Regions from separate parts of the Homo sapiens genome. Here regions 2, 3 and 4 are each linked to region 1. Evidence: promoter capture Hi-C in 16 types of primary human blood cells and fetal thymus (Javierre and others, 2016). All regions are on one chromosome and are shown on one strand. Each heading gives the region's core, a stretch centred on a gene start or on the middle of the fragment in contact. The rest is flanking DNA. Distances are from core to core; before and after follow the strand shown. Region 1 holds the start of COG4 (component of oligomeric golgi complex 4). Region 2 overlaps AP1G1 (adaptor related protein complex 1 subunit gamma 1). Region 3 holds the start of ZNF821 (zinc finger protein 821). Region 4 has its middle 10 kb from the start of TERF2.

What was found. Contacts are between HindIII fragments. The CHiCAGO score rates a contact against its expected background, and 5 or more counts as called.
Region 2: a contact is called between a fragment that was not itself captured here and the fragment with the promoter of COG4 in region 1, in 1 of 17 cell types (M2 macrophages). The highest score is 5.7, in M2 macrophages.
Region 3: the fragment with the promoter of ZNF821 here is called in contact with the fragment with the promoter of COG4 in region 1 in 3 of 17 cell types (M2 macrophages, M1 macrophages and M0 macrophages); the score reaches 12.1 in M2 macrophages.
Region 4: a fragment that was not itself captured here is called in contact with the fragment with the promoter of COG4 in region 1 in 1 of 17 cell types (fetal thymus); the score reaches 5.5 in fetal thymus.

The regions. Positions count from the first base shown.
Region 1 is chr16:70,522,228-70,525,433 of GRCh38, reverse strand. It overlaps COG4 (component of oligomeric golgi complex 4), which reads left to right and starts at 1,880. Exons shown (of 19, transcript NM_015386.3): 1 at 1,880-2,061. The coding sequence starts at 1,891. It overlaps SF3B3 (splicing factor 3b subunit 3), which reads right to left and starts at 1,618. Exons shown (of 26, transcript NM_012426.5): 1 at 1,506-1,618. RefSeq lists enhancers at 337-1,074, 2,108-2,247. The HindIII fragment of the contact is 1,828 bases long and covers 969-2,796 here.
Region 2 is chr16:71,785,076-71,788,338 of GRCh38, reverse strand. All of the region lies in intron 2 of AP1G1 (adaptor related protein complex 1 subunit gamma 1), which reads left to right. Among named protein-coding and RNA genes, the nearest start is that of AP1G1, 22 kb to the left of the region's middle. The HindIII fragment of the contact is 2,663 bases long and covers 576-3,238 here.
Region 3 is chr16:71,882,772-71,886,067 of GRCh38, reverse strand. It overlaps ZNF821 (zinc finger protein 821), which reads left to right and starts at 1,886. Exons shown (of 8, transcript NM_001201552.2): 1 at 1,886-2,160; 2 at 2,795-2,857. RefSeq lists enhancers at 520-1,020, 2,861-3,060 and silencers at 1,601-2,360, 2,381-2,500. The HindIII fragment of the contact is 5,845 bases long and covers 1-2,557 here.
Region 4 is chr16:69,394,649-69,397,954 of GRCh38, reverse strand. No RefSeq gene overlaps it. Among named protein-coding and RNA genes, the nearest start is that of TERF2, 10 kb to the right of the region's middle. The HindIII fragment of the contact is 1,086 bases long and covers 739-1,824 here.

The DNA.
Region 1 (3,206 bases), core at 631-3,130:
CCAAATCTAGTTGGATTCAGGTTCTCCAGCGACACCTTAACTTTGGATCGTGGAGGAAGGTGCATTTCGGAGGATCAGTCCAGTACTAGAAAAACTATATACGAGGCCAGGCGCAGTGGTGGCTCACGCCTGTAATCCCAGCACTTTGGGAGGCCGAGGCAAATGGGTCACTTGAGGTCAGGAATTGAGACCAGCCTGGCCAACACAGTGAAAACCCCTCTACTAAAAATGCAAAAACTAGCCGGGCGCGGTGGCACACGCCTTTAATCTCAGCTACTCGGGAAGCTGAGGCGTGAGAATAGCTAGAACCAAGGAGGAGGAGGCTGCAGTAAGCCGAGATCAAGCCGCTGCGCTCCAGCCTGGGCGACAGCGAGACTTCGTCTCAAAAACAAAACAAACAAACAAAAAATACATACCAGATAAATTTGGTAAGCTTTAAAACTTCCCCCACGTCTGGGCCGGGCGCGGTGTCTCACACCTGTAATCCCAACACTTTGGGAGGCCAAGGCGGGTGGATCAAGGTCAGGAGATCGAGACCATCCTGGCTAACACAGTGAAACCCCGTCTCTACTAAAAATACAAAAAATTAGCTGGGCGCGGTGGCGGGCGCCTGTAGTTCCAGCTACTCGTGAGGCTGAGGCAGGAGAATGGCGTGAACCCGGAAAGCGGAGCTTGCAGTGAGCAGAGATCGCGCCACTGCACTCCAGCCTGGGCGACAAAGCGAGACACCGTCTCAAAAAAAGAAAAATTAGCCGGGCGTGGTGGCACGCGCCCGTAATCCCAGCTAGTCTACTCGGGAGGCTGAGGTAAGAGAATCGCTGGAACCCGGGAGGCAGAGATGGCAGTGAGCCGAGATCGCGCCACTGCTCTCCAGTCTGGGCGACAGACTGTGACTCCGTCACAAAAACAAAACAAAACAAAACAAAAAAAACTTCCCCCACGTCTGTTTACCATTATTACAAAAAGCTTGTATGATTGCTCACTGCATCTTCTCCATCCTCCAAGGAAACATCATCGCATTTAAACTCTGTCCTCCATTACGCAAACGAGAAAATAGAGGTTCAGAGGAGGAGACAAGTTGCCCAACTACCAAAATACAAATTCAAACCGGAGTCTTGGCTCTAAAGACTGTTTCCGTTATTTACGCTTTTAACACGCTCCATCTTTCTATCTTCCCCTCGGTGTACCATTTACTCTACCCAGAGGGAGACATCCATGCCTCCCGCTGCTTGTCACACCTCCCCCGTCTCAGAGTCCCCAGAAGTTAAAAGCAATCTCCACGAGCCCTATTTTGAGATAGAATATGTTCCCACACTGTGGATGGAAGCGAGAGATAACTGCAGGAAGCCGTTTTGGCGCCTCAACCATCCCTCGGTACCTCCTCCTGGTCCCCAGCCTCTCGGGCCTAGACTGCCCGTGACCCCCGCCAAAGTCTCGGGTCCCCCTTCCATATGGCCGGTCTCCGCCTCCCCGGGCCCGGGGAAGTCTCCAGGCTGTTTTTTTACCCTGCAGCGAGAAGGATGGTGTGGATATCCAACGGATGCTACCTCCCTTCAAAACTTAAGCCACCACCAACTCCAACATACTGGCGTCCGCCATTAGACCTCAAGACAGGGACATTCTGGTGGCGCGCGGCGGAAAAAGGCACCCAATCCGCGCCTGAAGAATATATATAATTTTTAAAAAATGCTTCCGTCTTGCTTCCACACGGCATTACAAATTATTTAAACATGCTTTATTGCTTTGCTTTTTCCAGGAGAATAGAAAATTAATACGTTTTTAGAAGTAGACTTTAAAAAAAAAAAACCATTAGAGTTCATTGGGCACTTCTGTGGGCAGCCCCAAATAGGCGCCAACGAAGAGGGGGCCTCGCGGGACCGGAAGTGCCGAATGGGGACCAAGATGGCGGACCTTGATTCGCCTCCGAAGCTGTCAGGGGTGCAGCAGCCGTCTGAGGGGGTGGGAGGTGGCCGCTGCTCCGAAATCTCCGCTGAGCTCATTCGCTCCCTGACAGAGCTGCAGGAGCTGGAGGCTGTATACGAACGGCTCTGCGGCGAGGAGGTGCGGGGTCGAGCCTCTTCTTTTTCATGGAGGATCTAGGGAGAGTGGGAGCCTTCAGTCGGGAAATCCGGGCTGTGGGAAACTCTCCTTGCTGGGGGATACAAAAAAGCGGGAAAACAAAGAAGCGGAAGCTAGTCGGGTATATGAGTAGTCCTGTCAACTCTTTTCACGCTGTCGGACGCGCCGAGCTTGTCTTCCCTGATACCTGGGCGATCTGCAGCCTCTCCTCCCTAGACCCCCGTTGATTTCCCTGATCCATGATCACCAGTTTCTCCACGGGAGTAAAGTTAGTCTGAGAGTATTTGCCAAATTGCTTGGTTCTCAAAATAATAAGCGCCCTTTTGCATTGGCTTAATTTACAAATTATGAAACGCTCTCATCCTGTTATTTAAGAGGGAAGCCTTTGCAGATTAACTTCTTGAAGCGTTTTAAGACTTCCTCTTGTGGGGAGTGATTTGGGGGTGTGATTTTAGCGTTTTGGTCAAATGCACATCTTTGTAGAGGTTTAGCTTTTAAGACTCAGACACAATTCTCTAATCTTGGACAAGTCACTTCATCTCTGGTACCCTTGATATTTTATCAAATGAGGGGTGTGGACTATTCTCCAATTCCTTTCAGTTCATAACGTTCTATTTCCTGCCTCCTTTAATTTTCAGTGGCAACTCGATGCTGTCAATTCACTTTCGAATGTCAGTTGGGTTCCTTGCTAGTCAAAAGAGATCTAAGCTCTAAGCTTGTCAGCTGTTTCCCAGACCAAACTTCTAGCAAAGTTGAGCACAAAAGGCAGTTTCAGCCTGAGGGAGAGGTGATCGTTGATATCTTTGAGTATTTTCAAGTATAAACTTGCACTAACTCTAGCAGTTTCTGATACGTTTTTCAGCAAGATGTGTGTGGTGTTTTTTGTTTTGTTTTGTTATTTTTAGAAACAGGGCCGCTCTCTGTTGCGCAGGCTGGAGTGCTGTTGTGCTGCAATCAGAATGGATGAAACCAGAGGCGCACACCACCGTGCCTGGCTAGTTTAGTGTGTGGGGCTTTTTTTGTCTGGCCTCAGCAAGATGTGTTTTAAAATTTAGTATCTTGCGGGGCGCGGTGGCTCACGCCTGCCATCCCAGCACTTTGGGAGGCCAAGACGGGAGGATCACCTG
Region 2 (3,263 bases), core at 658-3,157, 1.3 Mb before region 1:
TTTCATATTAGTGCTATTAAATTTTATTTTAATAATTTAAGAATTGTATTATATGCTAAATAGTCTCTCTAAGGAACAGACTGCCCAACTGAAAGAAAGAATGTGCAACACTATCAGGAAAGATAGTCATCAGCTTATTTACTGTTTAGGTCAGTAATTTCAGTGGAAGGAGATCTCCTGCCCCCAAGTTAAAACAAAAAAGTACTGGGATTTAATCTTATCAGACTGACTTGGGTTTTATGGTCATCTTGGGGTTTGGAGTGGGGTCAACATCTTTAGAAATACATGATCAAGAGTGGGAGTCCATTAATTTCCCAAAGAAAAATTGATGTGTTAGTATCAGAGGAAAGGGGACTGGATCAAAAGAAAAGGAGCCAGGCAGAAGCAACTGCTGGGTCATCAATATAGTCATATATTTGGTTTGGGACAGAATTAGTGTCATAATAGCATTCTTCTCTTTCACATGAATAGTTTCTAAAAATATAATATGTTCTTTGAAATATATTTCATATTTCATTCGTAGAGTGTTAGGAGTGGAATGAAACCCTGAGGCTCTGATGTTTCAGTTATAAGCTTTACCACATCAAAAATTGATCCAGGTGGTTATCCATATACTGTGTGTCATAGTATAAAGCAAATAGATGCCTACGTGTTCTTGTTGATCGGTTGATTGATTTTAAGTATTAGGTTAGATTTACAGAAATCTGATATATTAGAAATTGGGCTATAAAAAAGTCTAGTGAGGGAGAAGACTCTTAATTCCTCAGCGATAAGCATTATTAACATTTTGGAAGCAGTACATTTACATATTCCCAAGGAAGTTCTTTAAGAGCATATTCTTTTTTTGTTGTTTTTAGAGGCAGGGTCTTGCTCTATGGCCCATGCTGTGGCTCTGTGATGGCTCACTGTCACCTCAACCTACTGGGCTCAAGTTCTCCTACCTCAGCCTCTCGAGTCACTGGGACTGCAGGTGCATGGCACCACACCCAGCTAATTTTTTTTTTTTTTTTTTTTTTTTTTGAGACAGAGTCTCGCTGTGTTGCCCAGGCTGGAGTCCAGTGGCGTGATCTCGGCTCACTTCAACCTCCACCTACTGGGTTCAAAAGATTCTTCTGCCTCAGCCTCCCGAGTAGCTGGGACTACAGGTGTGTGCCACCACACCCGGCTAATTTTTGTATTTTTAGTAGAGACGGAATGTTACCATATTGGCCAGGCTGGTCTCGAATTCCTGACCTCGTTATCTGTCTGTCTCGGCCTCCTAAAGTTCTGGGATTACAGAAGTGAGCCACTGTGCCCGGGCCCAGCTAATTTTTTGAGACGGGATCTCACTCTGTTGCCCAGGCTGGATTGTGCAGTGGACACCTCAGGCTTACTTTCTACTGGGCTCACTGCAGCCTCGACCTTCTGGGAACCACACCCGGCTAATTTTTGTATTTTTTATAGAGACAGGGCTTTGCTGTGTTGCTCAGGCTCATTTTGAACTCTTGAGCTCAAGCAATCCATGTGTCTTGGCCTCTCAAAGTACTGAGATTACAGGCGTGCACTATTGTGCCCGGTCAGCTAATTAAAAAAAAAATTTGGGCTGGGTGCGGTGGCTCACGCCTGTACACCCAGAACTTTGGGAGGCCGAGGTGGGTGGATCATGAGGTCAAGAGATAGAGGCTATCCTGGCCAACATGGTGGAACCCCCTCTCTACTAAAAATACAAAAATTAGCTGGGCATGGTGGTGCGTGCCTGTAGTCCCAGCTACTCAGGAGGCTGAAGCAGGAGAATCGTTTGAATCCGGGAGGTACAGGTTGCAGTGAGCTGAGATCGTGCCACTGTACTCCAGCCTGGCAACAGAATGAGACTCTTTCTCAAAAAAAAAAAATTTTTGTTGAGTTGGATTTCTGCCACAGTTCCCTGGTTGGTGTTGAACTCCTGGGCTCAAGTGATCTTTGGGCCTCAACCTCCCAAAGTGCTGTGATTATAGGTGTAAGCCACAGTCCCTGGACTAAGGGCAAATTCTTGAATTTGGAATCAGAGTAGATTTAAGACTTTGGGGGATATTTCATTTTGTAAAAAATCTCTCTATATTTTCTAAGATTCATTTCTTTAATATGTTTAAATAGAATGTGCTTTTAAGGTTAGGTGGCATTTGGGGGTATTTTGGGACTTAATTATTTGATAAAATATTTAATTCTTAGAAAGTAAATGCTCGAGAAAACTGTGCTAAAATTTTATCATAAAATATTTTTCTGAATGGGACTGGGAATCATAATTTTAAGTTCTTATTCTGTTTCCTCTGTTTCAATGAGTCACCATCTTGTTCATATCAGTAATTTGGTACCCCATCCGTTGGAATTACCTTTATAATATGCCTTTAAAAGGTTCATATCTAGATTTTGTCACCTGCACGTATGATCACAGTGCCATTTTCATTTAGTGTATAATAATAGCCACTTTTTTTTTTCTTTGAGATGGAGTCTCGCCCTGTTGCCCAGGCTGGAGTGCAATGGTGTGATCTCAGCTCACTGCAAACTCTGCCTCCTGGGTTCACGCCATTCTCCTTCCTCAGCCTCCCTAGTAGCTGGGACTACAGGCGCCTGCCACCATGCCTGGCTAATTTTTTTGTGTTTTTAGTAGAGACGGGATTTCACTGTGTTAGCCAGGGTGGTCTCGATCTGACCTCGTGATCTGCCCGCCTCGGCCTCCCAAAGTGCTGGGATTACAGGCGTGAGCCACCATTCCCAGCCCACTTTTTTTTTTTTTTTTTTTTTTTTGAGGCAGGGTTTCGCTCTTGTCACTCAGGCTGGAGTACAATGGCACAATCTTGGCTCATTGCAGCCTTCACTACCCAGGTTCAAGCGATTCTCCTGCCTCAGCCTCCTGAGTAGCTGGGCTACAGGCACCTGCCACCACACCCGGCTAATTTTTGTATTTTTGGTAGAGACAGGGTTTCACCATGTTGTCCAGACTAGTCTTGAACTCCTGACCTCAAATGATCCACCGTCTTGGCCTCCCAAAGTGCTGGAATTACAGGTGTGAGCCACCACACCCAGCCTAGTTATTGGAAGACTTTTAAATATGTTTTAAACAACTTGGGTATGTGAGTCTACTTTATAAATAGTAAATTTTATGAAATCTAAATACAGTTCAGCTATTTCTTTTTTTTTCTTTTTAGTTTAGCTATTTCTGATGAAAATGTACAAATTGAGATGTGCTGTAAGTGTAAAGTACATACTGTATATAGAAGCTTTAGTGCAAAAGCAAGTGTAAAATA
Region 3 (3,296 bases), core at 637-3,136, 1.4 Mb before region 1:
ATTTCACTGGAGGCAAACTTTACCTGTTTGCTACTTTTCTGTTGAAAATGTCAACTAAGTCAGCTTTAAAGTGACATAATAAAGCCATACTTGTATCCCTCAGTCCAAACTGATCAAGAATTACTGTTAAATATAAAAGCCAGTGTGTATTCTAGGTTGTATTCTTACACAAAATAGTACAAACACTTGCGGGTTGGATGATAATATTCCATTTTCTGTCTACTTGGAAACTAAGTTTTTAAATGAAATTAAAATGTTTCCTTGACTGAAGTTAAACAACAATAATTGCTATCTAAGTATCCTAATCACAATAAATAAATGAGTGAATGATGAATGAGCTATTTATCACAGAATTGTGAAGGACCAAGATCCCTCAATGTAATCATTCTATTACATTGAACACAAGATGCAGACAATGAGATCATCTCATAAAAGATTTAGGGGAAAGACAATTTGCAAGAATGTTCTATGCAAATACCAGGACTTGTCACTTTATCAGCAAATGACAGCATCCTCGTTAGCCCTGCCTTTGTGCAGCCAGTAATCACGAAAAACATTTGCATGATGCTTTTAGCCATTTGTTTTACTTAACTGGCACAACAACCCTCGGAGAGTAAAGGCCAGGAATTATTGCATCATTATCCATTTGACATCTTAGGAAGCAGAGGCTCAGAACAGGGAAGTGACTTGCCCAAAGTCAACAGGCTGGTGGGTGGCAGAGCTGGGGCTCAAAGCCAGATCTTCTAATACCAGATCTCATCTTCTTTCCTCTGCATTCCCTGCTTCTCCAGGTAAGCGATGCCAGGGCAGGCTCAGGCATTCTAGAAGAGAGGAAGAAAAGAAGGCAACAGGAACTAGGAGAGAGAAGGACGTGGACAGGAGGAGGTGTTTGACTAGAAGTGCGTCCAACCAGGCCGGGCACAGTGGCTTACGCCTGTAATCCCAGCACTTTGAGAGGCCGAGGCGGGAGGATCACCTGAGGTCAGGAGTTCGGGACCAGCCTGGCCAACATGGTGAAACCCCGTCTACTAAAAATACAAAAATTAGCTGGGCGTGGTGGTGCACGCCTGTAGTCCCAGCTACTCGGGAGGCTGAAGCACGAGAATCGCTTGAACCTGGGAGGCGCAGGTTGCAGTGAGCGAAGATCGCGCCATTGCATTGCAGCCTGGGTGACAGAGCGAGACTCTGTCTCAAAAAAAAAAAAAAAAAAAAGGTCCAACGGCTCTCCATTGCCCCCAAACATCCCTCAAGTGACAACAGTGCCACAAGTTCCCCTGCCCCTGGGTCTGCAGCCAATGTTATTTTATCAGTTGAGAATCATGTCAGAAAATTAAATACTCAAAAGAAATCTCAAGATTTCCCAGCTCTGAGGTTCTGACAGCTGAACTTGGCCCCTCCCACCAAGGCCCGTGGTCACATTCAAAGCCTCGGGAGCCGAAGCCACCGCGAAGCGTGGGGGAATGAGGCGAAGAGGGTTTGTGACGGTGGTGGGGATCCGGGCTAAGGAGAGGGGGTGCCTGCGGCGGAGCTGTGGTTGGGGGTTGTGGGTTTTGTGGCTGAACTCGATGGTGGGGTAAGAAACCAGGATCGGGGCTGGGTAGGGTGGCGTTTACACGTCCAGGAAGGTCTGGGGGAGCTGAGCGGCTGAGACAGCCAGAGAAAGACCCGGGAATGGGCGAGGCGGGGGGTTCCGGAGCCCTGGAACGCGGGCGAGCCCCTCTCGGGCGCCCGGGATTGGGCGCTCCCCGGAGCCCCTCCTCTCCAGAGCCCCTCTCCTCAGGCCCCGCCCACAACGCCAGGCGCGCGCCGGGCCGCGGGGAAGGGGACCTGGCCGGCGCGGGGGAGGGGGAGAGGGAGGCTCGTGCACGCGCCTCACTAGCTGCGGGTGCGCGAGCCGCGCGCTCCCGCCGCCCGCGTCGCCATCTTTTTCCCCCTCCGTCTGTCTGTCTGCTGTTGGCTTTGTCCGTCTGCAGCGCCGCCCCTCGGCTCCCCGCCACCGGCTCGGCTCGGCCCGGAGCCCCTTCCGCTCGCCGGGGCCCAGTCCCGGAGCGCCCCGGCCCGGCTGGCTTGGGCTGCGGTCCCGGGTCCATTGTCCGGCGGTCCGTCTGTCCGGAGGCGGGGCCCAGGGACCCAGAGCGCAGCGCAGCGCCGAGGCGCCGGGTAAAAAGACCCCCTGCCCTCCCTCCGGGTCCGGGCTGGGGATGCGGGCTCCTCGCCCCCTCGCGGCCGCCGGCTGTTGGTCCTTTTGTCTGCACTGGGGAGAGGGCCGGGGGCCAGCTCCGGCCTAGGGGGGCAGCCCGGGCTCACCCTCCCCGCTTCCAACCCCAATTCCTCCCCGGCCGCTCCTCCTGCTGCCCCTTGGCGCTCTCGGGCGCGGGGCGCGGGGTGCGGGGCCGGGGGGCTTTTGCGCGGGCCGCGGGCACCCCGCCTCCTCGGGCCCCGGCGGGGACGGCCCCGGCGTCTGACAGCCTTGGGTGGAGCTGGGGGAGGGGAGGATGGGCGTGGGCGTGCAGACCGGGGGGTATCAGTCCCCGCGTCTGGGTCTCGCAGAAAAGCTTCTAAATTTAGATTTCGGAGATTGTGTTGTCTAAGGGTTTGTCTGAGCCGCCTCGGAAGACCTCCGGCTCTTGTCAGGCTCTTGTCTGGTAATTCCTGGGAATTTACCTGGGCTCATGCTTGAAGAAGCAGAGGGACCATCTCGGCTGATTAGACACGCCCCAGACCCAACCCCAGGGGTCAGGTGAACAGCCAGGCGGCTAAGTGACCAGCTTTCTTGTCCTCTCCTTTTTGGCAGATACAGATCACTTGGATTCAGTCGAGTTTGCTTTGCTCCGTGGGAACTGCACCAGAGCTGGAGGTGGGAACGCACTCTCTTTTCATCAAGCTGAGATTTCACTCGTTTTTTTTCTTGCCAAAGTCTGTGGTGTGCCCTAGACGCTGCAACCTAATACCTGTGGGAGAGCAGAGACAGTGTTCAGGGGAGACGTTGCACCTTCCCGAGGACTCTTAACCTTGCTCTGAAGACAGACAGAACTGCTTTCCTTTTAAAATGGAATCCCTTTAGACCTGAATCTCACCGTTTACCTGTCTTCCCAGCCCATGTTCAGGCAGCTATCTATTTACATTTTTGGTTTGGTTTGGTTTCAGGTTTTGGCTTGGAAATTGAGGCAGTGTTAAAAGTAAAACAAAATGAGTGACCTTTAGGGCTGTATGTCTCTGGGTTTTATTAGCTTTAACTGCCTATAAAACAAGTCATCTGGCCTCTGAGATCTTGCTTTGTGGTCAAGAGTGTCCTT
Region 4 (3,306 bases), core at 32-2,531, 1.1 Mb after region 1:
TGCCTGTTCTGAGGTCTAGCCTCCATCTCATCTCTCCTTCCCTGGAACCTTGCCCCAGCTTTTGGGACTTGGGGGCTGGGGCCTGTTTGCATCATTCTTTCCTGAAGACATTCTAATATGATCAAAAGATAACTATGGGCTGGGTGGGATGGCTCACACCTGTAGTCCCAGCTACTTGGGAGGCTGAGGTGGGAGGATATCTTCAGCCTGGGAAGTCCAAGTCTGCAGTGAGCCATGACCGAGCCACTGCACTCCAGCCTGGGCAGCAGAGCAAGCTCTTGTCTCAAAGAAGATAACCAGCCAGGCGCGGGGGCTCACACCTGTAATCCCAACACTTTGGGAGGTTGAGTCGGGCGGATCATGAGGTCAGGAGATCAAGACCATCCTGGCTAACACGGTGAAACCCCATCTCTACTAAAAATACAAAAAATTAGCCAGGCATGGTGGCAGACGCCTGTAGTCCCAGCTACTCAGGAGGCTGAGGCAGGAGAATGACGTGAACCTGGGAGGCAGAGCTTGCATTGAGCCGAGATCACGCCTGCACTCCAGCCTGGGTGACAGAGCGAGACTCCGTCTCAAAAAAAAAAAAAAAAGACAACTATGTCAGGGGAAGAATACATTTCTTATAAAAATATAGGAAATGAATCTTTTGGTGCTGGGAGATTCTGAATAATTTGAGAAGGGGTGTCTACACCCCAGAAATGTGGCTGTATGTATGATTCTTATATTGCTTAAGCTTTATTAAACAATATTATTAACTCATATTTTAACAAGTCTTTCCAGTTGCCAGGTCCCATGCTAAGCAATTTGATAATGTATTATATCATTTAACCCTCACAGCAATTAACAGTCTTAGAGGTCTTTGGTATCCCCATCTTACAGATGAGGAATCCCAAAGTACTGGGATTACATGCATGAGCCACCACGCCCGGCCGATATATATATATTATAAAAGTAATAGATTAGTGCATTCTCAGAAGAGCCCTCTCGCTAGAATAGCCAGAGCTCTCTGACCTTCTCAAGGCTCCTCCTAGTGAGAAAGACTGAGCAGCAAGAACAGAGACTTGTTGTGGTTAAATGTTAACTTGTGTTTATTTCTCTACAACTGCCTGTTGTTTAATTTGGCCAACCCAGTGCAGATTCTTTCGTAAGCCTGTATGTAATTTCTGAACACCAGACCTACGACCTTTACACACATGCTAAACATTTATAGAGTGGGAGCGTTCTTTTTCTCCATCAGTGAGTTAAGTAAATACCAACATCCTCCCCCCTGAAAAAAAGTATTCTTTGATCTACACTAAAGATAAACTGGCAGTAATTCACTGACCAGCTGAGGGTTTTAAAGCAGATTCTTTGATAAGCCAGTTAATTTCAGAGGGCACTGGGGCTTGTTTCTTCCTGATACTGGGTTTTAAGTCATAAAGGCTTAGCATTACAGAAATGGAAAGAGAACTTTTAACATGATCTCATCAAACCCCCTCAATTTAATGGATGAGAAAACTGTGAGCTCCAGAGAGAGAAAAGGCAGTTTAACTCGCAGATGTGTTAACAAAGAGCCATACAGAAATGTTTTGTTACACAACAATTCCTGCGGCATTTTAAGCCTTCTGTGGTTATTGCGTTTTGTTTCCTTTATGATCTGGTGATGCAAGGACAGTATTTGGGCCTGGAAATGGAAACCTGGGGACGCTAATCCTCAGCTTTGTGCTGACGTCAGAGATATTTGAGAATCGTTGCTGCCCCCTGCTGGAAGTTTAAGATTTCATGGTCTCTCAAGATTATATGGAATTTTTGTAATGGTTTAAAAAATTGGAAAAGTAAGCTTTCCTTTGGTCAAAATTTTTAGGCCAGGTGTAGTGGCTCATGCCTGTAATCCCAACAGTTTGGGAGGCTGAGGTGGGAGGATCCATTGAGGCCAGGAGTTTGAGACCAGTCAGGGCAATATAGCAAGACCCCCTCTCTACAAAAAATACATAAAAATAAAATAAAATAAAATTTTGAACCAGCATGAAAGAGTATAAAGAGAAAAGAAAAATCTTCCCTTCCTAGTTCCATTTTCTAGTTCTATTGCTAGCAATTTTTTAACATTCTTTCACAATTTTTTCTATGAATGTATCTATATATATATATATCCATATGTATATAATTTTTATCCACAAGTAGGATAATACTGATACCCTGTTTTGAAACTTGCTTTTCTTTCTTTTTTCTTTTTTTTTGAGACAAAGTCTCGCTCTGTCGCCCAGGCTGGAGTGCAGTGGTGCAATCTCTGCTCACTGCAACCTTCTCCTGGGTTCAAGTGATTCTCCTGCCTCAGCCTCCTGAGTAGCTGGAATTACAGGCGTGTGCCACCACACCTAGCTAATTTCTGTAATTTTAGTAGAGACAAGGTTTCACCATGTTAGCCAGGCTGGTCTCGAACTCCTGGCCTCAAGTGATCTGCCTGCCTCGACCTCCCAAAGTGGTGGGATTGCAGGCACGAGCCACTGCACCTAGCCGAAACTTGCTTTTCTCTTTTTTATTTTCTTCATTTGGAAGAGGTAATACATTCAAAAGATTCCTAAGTTTAAAAAATTGTCTTTTACATCTTTTCAAAGCTGTATGTAGTGACAAACCTCATTCCTTCTGATGGAGGCATAATATTCCATTGCTTGAATGTATCATAAATTATTTATTCAGTCCTCTTTTGATGGATTAAAAAGTACATCTCGGTAAGAATAGGGACTTTATTATAGGTACTTTGTTTTTGCTGTTCCTGATAGTGGGAATATGTCAACAGAATGTGTCTAATGAATGAATAGACATTTGCCAACTCTCTAATATTTGTCCATTTCAAAAATGCTGCATTGTTGGGATCTCAAATCTAAGCAAAAGAAAAAAATTGCTGCCCTGAATATCTTTGTGCCTACATTGTTGGCATAGGATGGAGCTGGGAGAAACCATAGGTTCAAAATACATGTGAATTTTAAGTTTTGATAGATACTGCCAAATTGTTACTTTTGATGAGGAATATAATAATTTGATCATTTCCCTACTTGACAGGGCATCAAAACCAGAATCTCCCAGAGAGTTTAATTTAAAATAGCTCCTTTCTGCGCACCCCCTCCATGCTAATTCAGCAGGTAGGGGAGGAATCAGAATAGATTCCTAGTTCAGCAGTTAGGAGAAGAATCAGAAATATACAAAATTCCCATTGCTGGGGAATCTGTATATATAACGATGCTCCCTCAGGACTGGGAAGGGCCACATAATCTATCCATTTCTTGCCATGTAGTAGCAGATGGGAATGTGCTCATATAGCCTAAT